Regions from separate parts of the Homo sapiens genome. Here region 2 is linked to region 1. The links are contacts of gene promoters, found by promoter capture Hi-C in human tissues and cell types (Jung and others, 2019). All regions are on one chromosome and are shown on one strand. The core of a region is centred on a gene start or on the middle of the fragment in contact, and the rest is flanking DNA. Distances in the headings are between cores, read along the strand shown. Region 1 holds the start of STK32A (serine/threonine kinase 32A). Region 2 overlaps STK32A (serine/threonine kinase 32A).

The links. Contacts are between HindIII fragments. The study calls those that stand out against the background at their distance.
Region 2: a contact is called between a fragment that was not itself captured here and the fragment with the promoter of STK32A in region 1, in 3 of the 25 tissues and cell types used here (H1 embryonic stem cells, aorta and pancreas).

Annotation. Positions count from the first base shown.
Region 1 is chr5:147,233,720-147,236,419 of GRCh38, reverse strand. STK32A (serine/threonine kinase 32A) reads right to left here and starts at 1,394. Exons shown (of 13, transcript NM_001112724.2): 1 at 1,221-1,394. STK32A-AS1 (STK32A antisense RNA 1) reads left to right here and starts at 1,561. Exons shown (of 4, transcript NR_147190.1): 1 at 1,561-1,707. The HindIII fragment of the contact is 18,302 bases long and covers 1-2,700 here.
Region 2 is chr5:147,266,840-147,269,539 of GRCh38, reverse strand. All of the region lies in intron 2 of STK32A (serine/threonine kinase 32A), which reads right to left. Among named protein-coding and RNA genes, the nearest start is that of STK32A, 33 kb to the right of the region's middle. The HindIII fragment of the contact is 8,058 bases long and covers 1-2,700 here.

The DNA of each region.
Region 1 (2,700 bases), core at 145-2,644:
CTTCCTGATCTCCAGGCACTAGGTCTGCAGTGTTACCTAAGCATCATTTTGAGATGTGAAGAGGACAGCTACCATCCATGAAAATGAAAATCCAAAGCATATGAAATGTAAAAGGAGGAGAAATTTGTCTTGCAGGGACACAGGGAGTTTTCAGAGTCTACCCTGACCTGGCCGATTATCAGATTATTAACTGGGAAATAGTTCCCTAATACCAACCTTTCATCTTTGGCCTGTAATTTGGGGGTTGTCAACAGGTAAGCTTCTCTAACCACCAAGCCTCCCTAGATAAAGAGGTGTGGTCTTCTAGGATTGGAAAACATAGGAGGTGATGCAAGAAAGTTGCAACTTTTGATTAAACATTTTAGGTTTCATTGTCACAGAATGTGCATAGACACAACTTATTTTGTTTGCATTTGAAAAACAGAACTTCTTAGTTTAAGAAATATTTTAAAAATAGGGGGCAAAAACATGAAAAATGCCCAAGTTAATAACACTCTCAGTTAACAATTGTTTATATTTGGTCATCTTTATATCATCATTTTTATTTTTAAAGCATTTTAGGGAAATATTATTTCCACCTTAATCCTAAAGTCCAATTGATTTCCCTTTCACACTTTCCAAAGACAGCCACAATCACGGATGTGATAAACATTTTACAGTCCCCCTTCTATGATTTTACAAACATGACAAGTGTCTTAAAATAAGTCACCTAAATGGCATGAGAGAGTGGATATATTTTGCATCTTGCTGTGTCTATCTGCCATCATACTTCTGAAATCTAGGTACAGGCATGCTGATCCCTACAGCTCTGATTTTAGCTTTTTAAGTGCTGCATAGCAGTCCGTTGTGTGAATACACCACATTTTATTTTTTAAGTCCTGGGGGAAAAAGTCCTTGTGGAGATGAAGCAATCATCAAAGGCAGCTAGGTTTTGCTTGTTTAGATGCTGGAGAACAAGCAGAAACACCTCCACTCACTTGTCTCAACCCAGCAAATATTTATTGAAGTCTGTCTGGGTCTGCACATGAGTCAGTGCCAGGCAGGGGAACCTGGATGGAGTGCAAAATAGCTGGAATTGGCCCTAGCCTGCATTTAGTTTTGTGAGTTATCTTGATCAGCAGCCTTTGTCTTCTCTTCTCCTTGCACTTCCTAGCTTCCCAACAGTACCCTTAGTATGCAGGTTTATTGTTATTATTCGTTAAATCTAGACCACCACTCACCTAGTCTCGATTCTTCCTTCATTCCTCCCATGAGGCTCGGAGCGATGCTTTCATCCAGGGAACAGGGACTAAGAGAAGAACTCCAAGAGCAAGGAGCAAGAAAAGGCACCTATCTGCCCGGAAGCGGCGGAGGCTGCGAGCGCCGGGCTGGGCTGGGCTGGGCTGCGCTGGACTGAGCTGGGCTGGGCTGGGGAGGCACCTGCGGCTGCCAAGGGGTCCGAGCGCCGCCCAGCGCACAGCTACCCCGGAGGGGCGGCTCCTTGGCCAGGGAAGGAGGCGGGATCTGCTTGCCAGCGGGCGTCTCCGCTTAGCGCTCTCTCCAGAAACCGCTGGGCAGTCTCCTGGGTGAGCGCCAGACGCCTGGGGTCCGTTTGCCGCCTGCTGAGACTAGACAAGGACCCCGGGAGGGCGACGTTGGGGGAGAGGGCTACGGATGGAGGTCCCGCCGCGCTTGGGCCGGGTCCGGAGCCACCAGGACGCACAGCGGGTACTATTACGCCCCATATCACGGGAACTGCCTCACCCCCCCTGCGATGTGGATCGTAATAGCCGGGGGGGGGGGGGGGGGAGAAGGGGGGTGCTATTACTCTCCATATCGCCGGGGGTGCCTCACCCCCCTGCGATGTGGATCCTAAAAGCCGGGGGGTTGAGGGGGAGAGGGCGGTGCTATTACTCCTCATATCGCGGGGGAAGCCTCACTCCCCTGCGATGTGGATCGTAATAGTCGGGGGGGAAAGGGGGACGCTATTAATCCCCATATGGCAGGAGGGTGCCTCACACCCCAGCGATGTGGCTCGTAGTAGCCAGGGAGGGAGGGGGGGTCCTATTACTCCCCATATGGCGGGGTGTGCCTCACCCTCTTGCTATATGGGAATTAATAGCATTCTCTCCCCTCTTGGACATTAGAAACAATTTCACAGTGTGTGTGTACACAGCCTGCGATATTGAAACTAACAGCATCCTATCCACCTCCGGTTATTAGGAACAATATCACAAAATGGTGTACACTCTTTGCGAGACTTGGAGTTCTATCGTGCTGTGTTTCCCTGAATATTCGTAGAAATGTGACAGCGTGGGTGTACACCCACTACTATATTGGGAGTAACTTCGTACTCCACCCCCTGGAAATTAGGAGAAATATCACGGAAGGGGTGTAAAGCCACTGCGATATTTGAAATAATATCATGCCCTCACCCACTAGTTATTAGGAACAATATCACAGGACGGTGTATACCTTCTACAGTATTGGGAGTAATATCATCATCTCTTTCTTTAGATATTAGGAACAATATCAAAGGGGGTTGCACACCCAGTGTATTATTGGAAGTAATATCATTCTCTCTTCTTCTAGATTTTAGGAATCATATCACAGGCAGGGTGTACCACCCTTATTATATTAAAAGTAATGTTATCTCCTTTCGACCTGGATATTAAGAACAATAAGAAATGCGTTCTGTACATCCTTTGAATATTGGTAGTA
Region 2 (2,700 bases), core at 27-2,526, 33 kb before region 1:
TTCGCTAAAGGCAAAGTCAATTCGACATGGAAACAGTTACAGTTTGGTTGCCCACACGTCTGGCTTCTGCTTTCCAGTCCAGAGAGGATTTCATTTTTCTGTCTCAGTATAGCTGAAAGTCCTAGGTGCAGTAGAGGCTTTCCAAGACATTGCTCACTGAACTCAGTCTGTGTTCACTGACAACAACACACCATTACTGACTGCTTACTAAGTAACAGCCATTGTGCTAGGTGCTGGGAGAAAGAAGCCCAAGGTTGCCTGCCTTCAGGGGTCCTACAGTCTAGTGGAACAACAGAAAAATTCATAGTAGCTAACATCTAACATTTATATAAGGAATACCCATCATTATTCTAAATATGTTACATATATTATCCTAATTTTGCGCCAACTCTGAAACAGTATTACTATTATTGCCACGTTTTTAGGTGAACAAACTGCAACCCAGGGAAATTAAGTACCTTTCTCAAGGCCACAAAGTAGGTAAGTGGCAGAGTGGTAGAGTCCCACTCAAGTGGACTCCACAGCTGCCCTCCAACACTGTTCTTTACTGCATTCTATTAAACACACATAATCAATCTTGCACAAAAAAGTAGAATAAGCAGCACAGAGTTGGGTAAAGACCTGACTCACAACAATGTTCATATTTCTGCTTCTCCTCTTCTTATGCAGGTCTTTCATTTTTCACAGACCCTCTCTCACAACTCAGATCCCATCAACCACTTGCTGTCACTGTATCTGTCACTCATCATCTCTCACATCCCTAGCCAGATGCCTTGGTCTAGGATTGGAACTGTGACTCAGGCCATTCCAATCATTTTCACTCTGGATCTTCTGATCTTGAAATGCATATTCCCCCTCTGTCACAGGCTTCCAGAACATGAGAATGGAACTGGCTGAATGTAGAGAAAAAAGATCAGCACATCCAACAGGATAAAGCTGACATTTGGAATAAAGTAAAATCACAACATAAAGGGCTAAAGCTGATGGCATTAATGTGCCTGGCTCTATAACAATATAGATCCTATTTTGATTACTCTGCAGGCATCCCCAATATCCTTCTGATAATTTAATTTTTAACTTTTTTTTTACCAAAATAGATTCAAGTTCCAAGTGATATAAGCAGTGCTGCCATAGGGAGACCTGTAATGGGAGAAAGTAGCAGGAAAAGCCAACCTAGTCCAGGGAAATCCTGCAAAGCATCCTAGAGGAGATTATTACAACCTCAGAAGAATGTTGCAAGGGACTTGATGATCTATTCTTTCCTACAGATTTTCTTAATTTATCTCTGCATTGGATTATCAGGAAGGTAATTTCTCAGGAAAAGAGATGAAACATAAATAAATAACTGCAATATAACATAAATAAACAACTGCAATATAAAGTAGTGTATATGTATTGAGAGCCACATAAATGGTCCTGACGTGATTCTCAAGTGTGTCCACCCATCAAAATCACACAAATACATGTTTTTAAATTCAGATTCATTGGCCTTATCTGAATCAGATTCTCTGGAGGCTGGACCTGGGAATCTGTATTTTCAAAGATCCCATGAGGATTTTGTTAAAGGCTGCCTAGAACTAGTCTGCAGATGTTTATAGGAGTTCTAAGGTGGGAGAAATCTCTTCCTACTTTAGAAAATAAGAAAGCTTCAGGAATGGGCAGCATTTTAACTGGGTCTTGCAGAATGGGTTGGAGTTCCAAAGGTAGCCAGGCAGAGGAGGTCAGGGAGGATGCATTTAAAGTGACCCAAACCCTGAGGTGAAGAAGCTCTCAGTAGATAAGTATTTATATAAATGTTGACTCAATCAATTTCTTAGACTTCCCCCTCCATGTTGCCTCTATCCTTATGGGTTTGAAGCAATTTAATAAGTATCTGTAAATGATTAATGATAGAACTTCTGCTACCTGCACTGTGCCACATCTTAGGTCATAGTTAATAATTACATTACTGTCTATTAAGTAGCATATATACATCTATAGGCACTATCCAAATACCTTAATATACATTATCTTATTTACTTTTTACCAAAACAGCATGAGGTGGTAATATTATTATTGCTACTTTATAGATATGTTACATAAACCCAGAAAAGTTAAATTACCCAGGGTCAGGGTTTGGACTTAAATCTGACTTTTTGTGGCTCCAAGTTCCATGATTTTAATATTGTGATGAGTCCTAAAAGTTTCTGAATACATTATGGTGACTATGAGCATGAAACTCTGCTTTTGGGTTTGTCTGTACTACTTACTAGCTATGAACTTTAATTATTTACCCTCTGTGAGTTTCAATTTCTTCTTTCAATTTTGACCAGATACAATATACCTTCTAAGGTTATAATGAGGACTAGGTAAAATAAGCCATATCAAAGGTGCTTATCAACCATTTTTGGCAGAGAATAGGAACTCAATAATGTATAATTATTACTGCTATTTATGTTATTGCTATTGTTACCAGATGAATTACCTTTGTTTCAGCCCAGAATGTTGCCTGTTGGTTTTTTTTTTTTTTTGAGATGGAGTTTCAATCTTGTTGCCCAGGCTGGAGTACAAGTGCAATGGCACAATCTCGGCTCACCACAACCTCTGCCTCCCAGGTTTAAGTGATTCTCCTGCCTCAGCCTCCAGAGTAGCTGGGATTACAGACACGCACCACCATGCCTGGCTAATTTTGTATTTTTAGGAGAGGCAGGGTTTCTCTAT